3 separate regions of the Homo sapiens genome follow, and all the other regions are linked to region 3. The links are contacts of gene promoters, found by promoter capture Hi-C in human tissues and cell types (Jung and others, 2019). All regions are on one chromosome and are shown on one strand. Each heading gives the region's core, a stretch centred on a gene start or on the middle of the fragment in contact. The rest is flanking DNA. Distances are from core to core; before and after follow the strand shown. Region 1 overlaps VWF (von Willebrand factor). Region 2 overlaps LOC105369625 (a long non-coding RNA gene). Region 3 holds the start of VWF (von Willebrand factor).

Region 1 (4,345 bases), core at 104-2,603, 150 kb after region 3:
CTCTGCTCTTCGTGTCAGAGGAATGGTGGCAGGCAAGCAGGGGCATTGGCGGCTTCTCAGGAATGTTCTAAGCGGGCCTCAGGCGATGGCCTTGCTTCCATGTCCATAGTGAGAGGAGGCCTGCACCTCTGTACAAGCCTTTGAGGGGATTTTCCATGAAGCCTGATGGCCATCTGACTCCTCACCCGTAGGCTCCTGAATGAGGCTCAGTCAAGGTGTAGGAACTGTATTCTGAGAAGCCAAAGGAAGTCCATTAGATATTATTTACTCTGTGATACTCCTCAGGAAGAAGAAGAGGGAGGGCTGTTCTTCTCAGTATCAGACAGGAAACAGGGCCACCCCAGGGAATGGGGTTGGCCAGAACCTCTGTAGCTTATATGAAGCCTGTGGACACTGGAGGGTCCTGACCCGAGCCCAGAGCTCGTCCTGTTAGGCTGGTACAACCCGCAACTCCAGTGTTGCAAGGGCCAGTCTGACCCAGGAAGTCAGCTTTTCAAACTGTGCTCCTCAGATTGCCTCAGAGGGGACAAGTGACCAGAGCTTGGCATCTACCACCTCCATTTCAGTTATAGCAATTGTGCTTAAAGGATTGTGCTGCTAGATACATTCATAATTTATTTTTCAGTGCATATGTTTTCAGGTTGGGTGGCTAGTAGACCTACTTAGTTTCATTCTTATTTGGGAAACCAATGAAAACAGGGTGGAGAAGAGAGCCAGGAGAAGGGCCTGGGATGTGTATTTTGATACAAGATATCAAATGTCGATATAAGCGAGGGAATTTGTTGGAGGAAGGGAAAATAAAGAATTGAAAAATATAGGTTGGACCCTGGTTGTGCAGCCAGAAAACAGGGTTGCTGTGGGGTATGGAGGGGAATCTTAGAAAGATGGAAATTTGGAGGGATGGCTAAAAGTGTCTGGGTTTGAGAAGCTAGTGGGGCTGTGGGAACAGACATCTGGCCTGGGAGCCATCCGTAATATTGACACTGTTTGCCCATGGTGAGAGGCAACAGGAAACAAAAATAATATGCGAATCTCGATCATTCAGCCTTCTAGAGAGGCGTACGAGAATGACAGCAGATCCCTAAAGGTATTAATTACTGTCTTCTGTGTTCTTTGAGTCTTTGTTTCTGACCCCCTGAGACCTTGTTTTTTTTCTTTAATGGCATTTTGAATGTTCTGCTGTATCTTGGAGGGTGTGTACACAGATTGAGGCATCCTAATTTGTTGTCTCCTCCGTAGTACCTAGTACATCATAGGTGCACAGTAAATGACTAGAATCTTGGCTGATAAAAGCCTGGAGACAGCTCACTGCACACTGCTGGGAGGTGGGCGGTGATATCAGTAGGTCTCGTGGAGACTGGGTGGGGTTGAGCCAAGTCTCAGGAGTGTTGAGACCGTCCAGAGAGAGGCACACGTGTTGTGCATCTTCAGATTCGGCCCTGCTGGGGAGAGTGCTTGGGGAGCAGAGCAGGCTGCCATCCACACCCGTCCTGAACAGCTGTGGTTACTCTTTCTCTCTTAAGGACACAGCTCCAAGATGGAACGTAGTCCTGGGTTCTTTTCTCTTGGCTCCTGGGACAAACACACTGTCATTGCTTTGACTATTCTTTCTATAGACTTTTCAGAGGAGGGTTTCAGTCCATGTTCATGATGCTTTAGCCAGATTGGAGGACCTTCTAGAGGCAAGATGGGCTGACAAACTTCCAGGATGCTGGTCTCCCTGGCATGCTTTCTGGGGAAGCTTTGTCTGTTGCTCTCTCATCTCACTTTTCTTTTGTAAAGAACACCGTACCCTATAAATTACTAGGTAAATGTCAAGTAACCTCTTGGGGAAGCCCAAATCTGCACGTTGGTGAGCAGTATTGGGATCGAGTGTTCGTCTTGTATGGGAGGCTAGCCCTGCGAGAGTGGAGACTGGATCCCAGTCATCCTGAGTGTGCCTCCCGGTCAGTGAGGGTCCCTAGAGTTGGCCATGATAAGGGCCAGATTAGTAAGCTGCTGCTAAGGGAACTCTGGGCTGTCTTTAATGCTCCTATGGACTGGATCATGGTCTCTCTCAAAGTGGGATCTTTCAGGGGGCAGAATTATATCTCTGCAGCTGATGTAAGACTTCGTTTAGTGACCTGGTGGTTGCTGCTTCTTGGCATGGCCCTGAGGCTGGTTGACAACAAAGATGAAAATGCCCAGACCAGTGATCACTTGGCACAACCCCAGGGCTCAGTACGCAGGAGGCGTAGGTAAGAGCCCCTGTGTCTTTGCTGCTGGCCTGTCCTTACTCTGTTTTTTCTGCTTTTCCAGGGCTTCACTTACGTTCTGCATGAAGGCGAGTGCTGTGGAAGGTGCCTGCCATCTGCCTGTGAGGTGGTGACTGGCTCACCGCGGGGGGACTCCCAGTCTTCCTGGAAGAGTGTAGGTCCAGGCCCCCGGGACGGGGAGGAGGGCAGATTGGGGCCACTCCAGGGACCAGCGTTGACCTTGGTTTCATCTCATTCCCTGCCCTTTGCTTTCCCCACTGGGCATTTCACCCAGCTGTTGGTGTTATCCAGATGCCAGCTGGGATGACCTGCCCCTTAGGAACCAGTTAAGACGGCCTCAGCCTTCCCATTTTGTAGATTTTGGGAGAAGCCCAGGGCCCTCCCAGGGGGATTCATGCTCTCTCATTCACCTGTGAATCTGAGGTGCTGTGGCTGAGGGGCTGGTTTTGGGATGGCCTCACCACCCCTCCAAAGTGCCACAGGCTGCAAGTACTGTTCTGGACCACATCAACCCAGGCAGGGTCCTCAGACCTTTTCACTGATTTCTACTGAAACCTCCTTGGTGGTTTTAGGGAGGTGGAAACCTTTACAACCCAGAAAAGGAACAGTATTTCCCACAGTCCCTCTGCTATTTCTGCAGGTCTGGCTGGGGCATCTTGCCAGCCCCCCATTGCCCCACTCTTGTCCTCTCCTGGCTGGCTCACCCCCGCCAGTCCCTTCTTCTAACACAGAGCAGTTCAGCTGTCCCCCATGTGCTGCCAGGTTCTCTCTTAGACTCTGATGCTCATCAAGCCATTTTCTTAAACACAGAGGATTCCGTCTTTGGCGGTTTTAGTCCAGATGCTAGGAGAATCACAGTTCTTTCAGTCTGGTCAGAAGGATAAGGTGGGTGGTGCCAAGTCCTGGCAGCCTTGGGAGCTGGTGCTGGGAACAGGTGAACTGCCCATATGGGCCTTGCCTCTGTCTTCCCCAGCAAGACCAATGCGCTTCCCTTCGAGAGGAAGGCCAAAGGTCTGCTATCTTGTCCTGAGCCTTTCCCATCTCCTACCCAGGCCCATTGCCTTTCTCCTCCCCAGTGATAACAGAATGACTCACTGGGCTTTTTCAGGTGAGTTTCCACCTCCCCCTCTAGTCCGAGTTGCCTATGGGTTCTCTTCCCTGTGTTCTCCCCTCCCCACCTTTTAGTGCTTCTGCTCCCATGTGCCCTGGATGGAGGCAGGTTTTGTTTCTTCTCCCCAGGGTCAAGGTCCAGCTCAGATCAGGGGCTGCCCCATCCTGGTGGGGCTGAGAGCTGGTCCCTTTGCGCTCAGTATTCCTGCCCCTTTCCCCATCTCTCATCTCCCTTCAAGGCCTACCCCACCCTGCCCCTCATCAGTGTTTGCAAAGCATAAGGTGACCTGGGCTTCTCTCCTCTACCTCAAGTCTCCATCTTACCTAAAAGACTTGGGTGTTGGCAATGGCTTTGCTGCTGAACCATGTCAGGGGTCAGCGGGGGGTGGTGGCAATGGGTCCTCTTAATGAGCCAGTGGCCAAGGCTCAGTGAGTGAGTAATCAGAGGAGGGAGAAGTCTGGAGGGTGGAATCAGGCCTGCAGTGGGAAGATTTGGCCACAGGGAGTCAGGAGTGGGGGGTGAAGAGAATGGCTGCAAGTGTTTGGCATTTTCTACACCTCATCTGGAAGGAGAAGAAATAAGCAGGCACCAGGAGAAGTAGGTCAGGGCCTGAGATGGCGGCAGAGGGCACCTAGTTACATATCTGGGTGCTGGCCGACACAGAGGGCACTCGGAGTGACATTTTCTGGGGAAGATCCTCCTGGTGACTTTTCTGAACCATGGTCTTGGGCCCTTTCAGCTTCTTGCCCGTGGTGACAACCCTTGGGGTCAGGCTACCCATGTGCAGTCTTCGTGGACAGATTGCAGGGCTGCAGGGGTCCCAGGCCAGCCTTCCCGGGCTTCTGCCAGCTCCCTGTCTCCCCTTACCATGGGAAGTGGCACCAGCCTGGGAAATGGGTTGAGCTTCCCGGCTGCACCTTCCCACTGATGGCCCACAGTGCTGCTTCTTGGCCGGAGTATCTGAGCTCAGCTCAAACCA
Region 2 (4,527 bases), core at 1,912-4,411, 140 kb before region 3:
AAGAAAAGAAAGAAAAAGACACCACGACTCCAAGATGGCGTCAGTCATACCAGTGAAGGACAAGAAACTTCTGGAGGTCAAACTGGGGGAGTTGCCAAGCTGGATCTTGACGCGGGACTTCAGCCCTAGTGGCATTTTCGGAGCATTTCGAAGAAGTTACTACCGGTACTACAACAAGTACATCAATGTGAAGAAGGGGAGCATCTCGGGGGTTACCATGGTGCTGGCATGCTACGTGATCTTCAGCTACTGCCTCTCCTACAAGCATCTCAAGCACGAGCGGCTCCGCAAATGCTACTGAAGAGGACACGCTCTGCACCCCGTACCCCACGACCTTCTAGGCCTGAGCCCCTCCGTGAGGAACACAATCTCGATCGCTGCTGAATCCTTTCATATCCTAATGGGAATTAACCCCCAAATAAAAGATGACTGGTAAAAAAAATTAAAAAACATAAAATAAAAATAAAATAAATAAAAAAGAAAAGAAAAGAAATATTTGATAAATGAATGAAGGAAGAATACACCTGAAAATGAGGGAAGCAGAGCTGGTAAATGTCCAAAGCCAGACCAACCCCTGGTGGTACCGTGTGTACCCTGGAGCCCAGTGTGCCTGGATGGTTCAGGTCCACAAAGCCAAAGACTTTCCTTTCACTCATTGGCCAGTCTGAATAAGGTTTACCGTCACTTGCAAGCAAGAGTCCTGAGTAATATATGGGATTAATGAGGAATATAGTGTGGCTGCGATGCTGAAGGAGGACAGGAAAGGAAAATGTAGGGGGCCGGGCGTGGTGGCTCACGCCTGTAATCCCAGCACTTTGGGAGGCCAAGGCAGGCAGATCACAAGGTCAGGAGATCAAGACCATCCTGGCTAACATGGTGAAACCCCGTCTCTACTAAAAAATACAAAAAAAATTAGCCAGGTGTGGTGGTGGGTGCCTGTAGCCCCAGCTACTCGGGAGGCTGAGGCAGGAGAATGGCGTGAACCCGGGAGGCAGAGCTTGCAGTGAGCAGAGATGATGCCACTTCACTCCAGCCTGGGCGACAGAGTGAGACTCTGTCTCAAAAAAAAAAAAAAAGAAAGAAAATGTAAGGAGAAAGGGAATGGTGGGGCAGCCATTTGTGAGCCTGTACTGTGTGCCCCGTAGTGGGCTGGCTTTGTCATGTATATCTTCGCTTTTCATTCTCCTGACAACCTTGTGAATTAGGTGTTGTCCCTCCCACTTCACAGGTGAAGAAACTGAGTGAGGTTAAGTGCCTGATCTAAGATCATAAAGCTAGCGAGTGGCAGAGGTAGAAGGAAATCCAGGTCTTTCTGATTTTAAAATCCCATGCTTTCTTGGTGGTTTATTTTGCTCTTTTTTTTTTTTTTTTTTTTTTTTGCTTCGTGGGTTGGCCAAAATCTCCAAATATTTTCACTACTGCTGGAGCCCTGGCAAAGGCAGCAAGTGGGGTGGCTGCCAGAGGCTGGGGCCGAGGAGGGAAGGGAGGAGGGGTACATGTGAGGGCCCTTTGTAGGCAGGTATTTATAAAGCTGGGGCTTCTCCCTTGTAACAAATATCAGTGATATTTCTCCTGGCTCTTAGATGGGGGAAGGTATCTTCGCCTCTGTTCGCAAGTACACATCCAGGGAAGGCAGTGCCTGGAGGTCAGGTGAGGCCAGGCTGGCCTGGAGAGGTGAACTAAGGCTGCTGGACTGAAGGCGTCCTGGAGGTTTTTTGTCCACCACATGAATGCCCCGCCTACAGCCCCCTCTGAGAGAAACTGAGCTTCTCCCGGCTCCCTGCTGCGCGTTCCTAGGGTGGGCATTTCCTGTCCTGACCCACATGGCCCTGTCCCCTCTGACCTCAGCTGACTGGCCCAGCATTGGGCACCCTGCCCAAGGGCAGCCCCACCACAGCTGACCAGGGGTCACTGGGGGGCTTTGGTGTCTGAGCGATGTGATGAGCTGGGCCTCCTGGTAGAGGGGGCAGAAGCAGGAAGACACATTGAAAAAGCAGAAAAAGAGGTAGCCCACCAGAGGGATGACCATTTCGGGCCTGGCATGGGTGCCTGAGCGCTGTCTGCTCTCTGAATTAAGAGGCCTGCTGCATGGCTGCTCCTGGGGCCTGGAACGCTTCAGTCCCTTTGTGTTGTCAATTCTGGACAAGAATCCCGTGCTGTTTTAAAAATTTTTTTATTACTTTTAAATTAATTTATTATTATTTTATCTTATTTTTAAAAATATTAACTTCCCATACTACACTGATGTGTATTTTTGAGTTTATACTCTTTTGTTTTTTTGAGACAGGATCTTGCTCTGTTACTCAGGCTGAAGTGCAGTGGTGCCATCTCAGCTCACTGAACTCCTGGGCTCAAGCAGTCCTCCTGCCTTGGCCTCCCCGGTAGCTGGGACCACACCTGTGCTCCACTGCCCTATTTTTATTTATTTATTTATTTGAGATGAAGTTTCGCTCCTGTCACCCAAGCTGGAGTACAATGGCACAATCTCGGCTCACTGTAACCTCTGCCTCCCGGGTTCAAGCAGTTCTCCCTGTCTCAGCCTCCCGAGTAGCTGGGATTACAGGCATCCACCACCACGCCTGGCTAATTTTTGTATTTTTTAGTAGAGATGAGGTTTCACCATGTTGGCCAGGCTGGTCTTGAACTCCTGACCTCAGGTGATCCACCCACCTCGGCCTCCCAAAGTGCTGGGATTATAGGCATGAGCCACGGCTCCTGGTCTCCCCTCTTTTCCAGTCTAGCTTGAGTGGGTGCGATTGTGGTCACCCAAAGAGGCAGACAGGACAGTCTAGGCTGCAGAGCCTGATGTGGTCTGCCCCCCCTCATTCACAAGGATCATGACGCTCGGGCCTGTGGCCTCCCACAACTGGAACCGTGGGGAGGGAAAGGAGGGGCCAGGGGGGAACATGGTTTTCAGTCATGACATGACAACATACCTCAGTCGTGGGTGTGTTTTAAGTAATCTGTTATTCATCATAACCAAAGCACTTGCGTGTATTTTAAAGCACATATTTGCTTCTGTAACCACATCAAATTTCCAAAGGCCCAGAAGGGTACACGCTGAAAAGTCCCCTTCCTTCCCTCTGGGCAGCTCCCTCCCTTGAGGCAGCCATCCTTACCAGAATTTGGGCATCCTTCCAGAAACATTTTGTGCACCTATCAGCAAACACTCTTGTACACATTCCTCCTTTCCCTTATTTAGTACCCAAATGTTAGCATATTATTCCCATTACCCTGTACCTTGTTTTTTTCATTTGTGAATAATTAACTAACTTTCCCCCCAGTGAGAGCAGGTTTGAGATCATCCCCACAACAAAGTCACTTCTGCCACTTGCCTTCCAGGGCACCTTTCCGAGCGGGAGAGGGGGTTAGTGAGCAGGGCCCGGGACCCTTTGGGAGGGTGTGTGTGTATTCATGTGTGTATGTGTGTGCGTGTGTGTGCGTGTGCATGTGAGACCTGCAGGACAGCCTCACTTGGAAGACCTGGTTTTAGGTCTAAGACCCCACGAACAAGCCCAGGGCCTTAATCCCCCTCCGGTTCAGTTTCCCTCCCACAAAGAGGAATGACAAGCCTGTTCCCTGGGGCTGTTGAGGTTGGAATAAGGACGTGTTAAGAAACTGTCTTGTGAATTGTCTAGTCCTAGGCGGTGAGCGGTTATTGTCAGCCAGACAGATTCAAAAGCTTCTCATCCATTTTCCCTTAAGGATGTGTCTGGCCTTCTCTGCTTACTCCCAGCCACCTCCCTATTCCCAGCTGAAGGCATCATCTCCTCTTGGAGCTTCCCTCCCACATGGACCTGCCTGTTTATGGGCATCTGCTCTCCACCTCACCTGCCTTCCGCCACCTGCTCTTGGGCACCTGAAACCACTTCTGCTGGAGTGCAGCGGTGCAAATACAGGTCACTACTGGCCTTTTTTTTTTTTTTTTTTGAGATGGAGTTACGCTGTGTCACCCAGGCTGGAGTGCAGTGGCGTGATCTCCGCTCACTGCAACCTCTGCCTCCCGGGTTCAAGTGATTCTTGTGCTTCAGCCTCCCCAGTAGCTGGGATTGCAGGCATGAGCCACCAAGCCCAGCTTTTTTTGGTATTCTTTTGTAGAGACAAGGTTTCCCTATGTTGCCCAGGCTGGTCTTGAACTCCTGGGCTCAAACGATCCACCCACCTCAGCCTCCTAAAAGTGTTGGGATTATAGGTGTGAGCCACTATGCCTGGCCCCTTCATATGTGCTTGCTTTTTTTTTTTTTTTCAAGACAGTATTTCACTCTTGTTGCCCAGGCTGGAGTGCAATGGCACAGTCTTGTCTTACTGGAACCTCTGCCTCCCAGGTTTAAGCAATTCTCCTGCCTCAGTCTGCTGAGTAGCTGGGATTATAGGCATGCACCACCACGCCTGGCTAATTTTATGTTTTTAGTAGAGATGGGGTTTCACCATGTTGGCCAGGCTGGTTTCAAACTCCTAACCTTAGGTAATCCGCCCACCTTGGCCTCCCAAAGTGCTGAGATTAGAGGCGTGAGCCACCGCACCTAG
Region 3 (2,583 bases), core at 1-2,500:
GGGTTCACGCCATTCTCCTGCCTCAGCCTCCCGAGTAGCTGGGACTACAGGCGCCCGCCACCACGCCTGGCTAATTTTTTGTGTTTTTAGTAGAGACGGGGTTTCACTATGTTAGCCAGGATGGTCTTGATCCCTTGACCTCGTGATCCGCCCACCTCGGCCTCCCAAAGTGCTGGGATTACAGGCGTGAACCACCGTGCCCGGCCCCCCAATGGCCTTTTCTACTGTCTCATGCTGATTCTGCCTCTGGTGCCATTTTTCTTCCTTGGGAGTGTGCATCTTCCTCTCCTGGGGCGGTAAAGGGAGTAGCAGAGTGCGAGGTATGTGGGAAGGGAGGAGGTTGGAACCTAGTGGTTTCTCAAAGTCTTAGGGCAGGAGGTATCATGGAGAAGCAGTGAGGAGGTCTTCCATACCCAGACATGCCTCAGGGTGCTTGTCTCAGTGCCTGGAATCCCAGCACGAGAGTCATCTTCCCCCCACCGCTGCCCATTGCATCAGTTACTTATTTTAGTAGGAATTAGTTTAGCAGATGGTGTTGAGAATTAGGCTTTTGGGAATGGGAGGCTGGGAAGAAGAATTGTGTGTGTGTGTGTGTGTGTGTGTGTGTGTGTGTGTGTGTAAGATCAGGGTACCAGAAGTGGGTGGAAATGTCCTTGAGAATTAGAATTATTAGAATGTAGCAACAGTAGAAGTATTAGACTCAAACCATCACTCCCCACCTTCACCATTTTACAAAGGCTTAGGCTTGTGGCCAAGACCTTCATCTTTAGCCGATCCATTCAACCCTGGCCAGGATCCAAATGGACTGTTTTTGTCAGGGCCAGGACCGGATCCTTCATACCTGGGGTGCATAGGAAGTGTTAGTACTCCCCTTCCTCCAAACACAGCAGCAAAATTGGCTCAGGTTGAGGTGTTTTTCTCAACTTCCCTGGAGTCCAGCCCTGGAAGCTGGATCAGGAAGCTGTGTTGTTCTACTGTGATTCCCCCTGGCCTGTATCAGCTTGCCCTGAAACAACCAGCATTCCTGGTTATCCCACACAGGTGGGGCACTCTAGGAAGACCAGGGATCAAGTGTGGGGGTGTAGGGATAGGGGGTGTTTGGGGAGGGCAAGGCAGTTAATTAAGGCAGCTGCCAGGAGGTCTCCCTCCAAACTCTACAAAGCTTTATCAGCTTGGAGGTACTTCTAATACCATTTCCTTTCATTGTTTCCTTTTGGTAATTAAAAGGAGGCCAATCCCCTGTTGTGGCAGCTCACAGCTATTGTGGTGGGAAAGGGAGGGTGGTTGGTGGATGTCACAGCTTGGGCTTTATCTCCCCCAGCAGTGGGGACTCCACAGCCCCTGGGCTACATAACAGCAAGACAGTCCGGAGCTGTAGCAGACCTGATTGAGCCTTTGCAGCAGCTGAGAGCATGGCCTAGGGTGGGCGGCACCATTGTCCAGCAGCTGAGTTTCCCAGGGACCTTGGAGATAGCCGCAGCCCTCATTTGCAGGGGAAGGTATGGCCTTTGGAAGGAGAGCTGGCTCAGTTGTGGGAGGAAGATGCAGGACTGACTGATCCCTGCTCCTGGGGAGCTGGAGTTCTCTGTCGCTGGACTAGAAGGGCTTTGTTTGGAGGGGCAATTCAATTCAGCCAGGGATGATCCTAATACTCCCTCCTCCACTTGCCTCTGAGGGTCCTGGGGCTGCTTTTCTTCATGCAGTGGGTTTTACTGTTTGATAGTACTTCACTCAAATGAGTTGGAATGAAGTTTGCCCTCACCTCTGAGAACCTGGGAGCAGCTGAATGTACCTGCGTGTTAGGACTGGGAGGGGACACCTGCTTGGAGACCGAGACCTGGCAGTATCTGACATCTCAGTGTTCCTTCCACAGATGTATCACAGATTGGCTTGATTTCACCTTTGGCTGGATGGGACCTTAGGTAGGAAGGGAGTCACCCCCAGTGAATCTCAGGCAGCAGATTCTGCACTTCATTTAACAACTTTTCCCGAGGAGAGGGGCTACAGCAGGGGCTCTAAGTGACTTGGGGTACGCTCTGCCAGCCAGGATGAATTGTCCCTCTCTTGGGGGTCACACAGTGGGGAAGTCTGCCTGCATCCAGGGCCGCTGGACTCCTGTCCATTTTTTCAGATGAACTCAGCAAACATTTGCTGGGCATCTCCTGGGTGCTAAGCATCTTGCCAGGTGCTGGGGTTGGAGGCAAGGGAGACAGCCTTTGCTCTTGTGAAGGCACTTGTGGTACAGAGTCAGGGGCCAACAAGCAAACCGTCAAGTTGGTGGTTCCTGAGCATTCTCTATGTCTGGGCTGCTGTGGTGGGCACACAAGTGTAAGACGGTTCCTACTCGCCAGTTTGGATGCAGAGGCAGGAAGGAATGAGGTGTGTGTTAGCTCCCAGCTGCTTCAGGAGGCAGGGATGTGAGGCCCAGCGGGCCTGGAGGGAAGGCAGCGTTTTCCTCCTGTCTTGGGCCTGGGACTGCTGTCTGTGGAAAGGTGCCCACAGGTCCCAGCTCACAGCGATTGTTACCCTTGGGCCTGGCACTGGCCAGGGGTTTTTTCGGGGGCCAGAAGTCCATGTTCAAAG

The links. The method cuts DNA at HindIII sites, captures the fragments that hold promoters and counts their contacts. A contact is called where the count stands out against the background at its distance.
Region 1: a fragment that was not itself captured here is called in contact with the fragment with the promoter of VWF in region 3 in 2 of the 25 tissues and cell types used here (H1 embryonic stem cells and spleen).
Region 2: a fragment that was not itself captured here is called in contact with the fragment with the promoter of VWF in region 3 in 1 of the 25 tissues and cell types used here (neural progenitor cells).

What each region holds. Positions count from the first base shown.
Region 1 is chr12:5,969,663-5,974,007 of GRCh38, reverse strand. It overlaps VWF (von Willebrand factor), which reads left to right. Exons shown (of 52, transcript NM_000552.5): 44 at 2,299-2,409. Among named protein-coding and RNA genes, the nearest start is that of ANO2, 27 kb to the right of the region's middle. RefSeq lists an enhancer at 3,828-4,345. The HindIII fragment of the contact is 8,398 bases long and covers 1-4,345 here.
Region 2 is chr12:6,265,933-6,270,459 of GRCh38, reverse strand. The region is part of intron 2 of LOC105369625 (a long non-coding RNA gene); the gene reads left to right. It also overlaps the pseudogene ATP5MFP5. Among named protein-coding and RNA genes, the nearest start is that of PLEKHG6, 42 kb to the left of the region's middle. RefSeq lists an enhancer at 880-1,625. The HindIII fragment of the contact is 4,977 bases long and covers 673-4,527 here.
Region 3 is chr12:6,123,337-6,125,919 of GRCh38, reverse strand. It overlaps VWF (von Willebrand factor), which reads left to right and starts at 1,250. Exons shown (of 52, transcript NM_000552.5): 1 at 1,250-1,499. The HindIII fragment of the contact is 10,588 bases long and covers 1-2,583 here.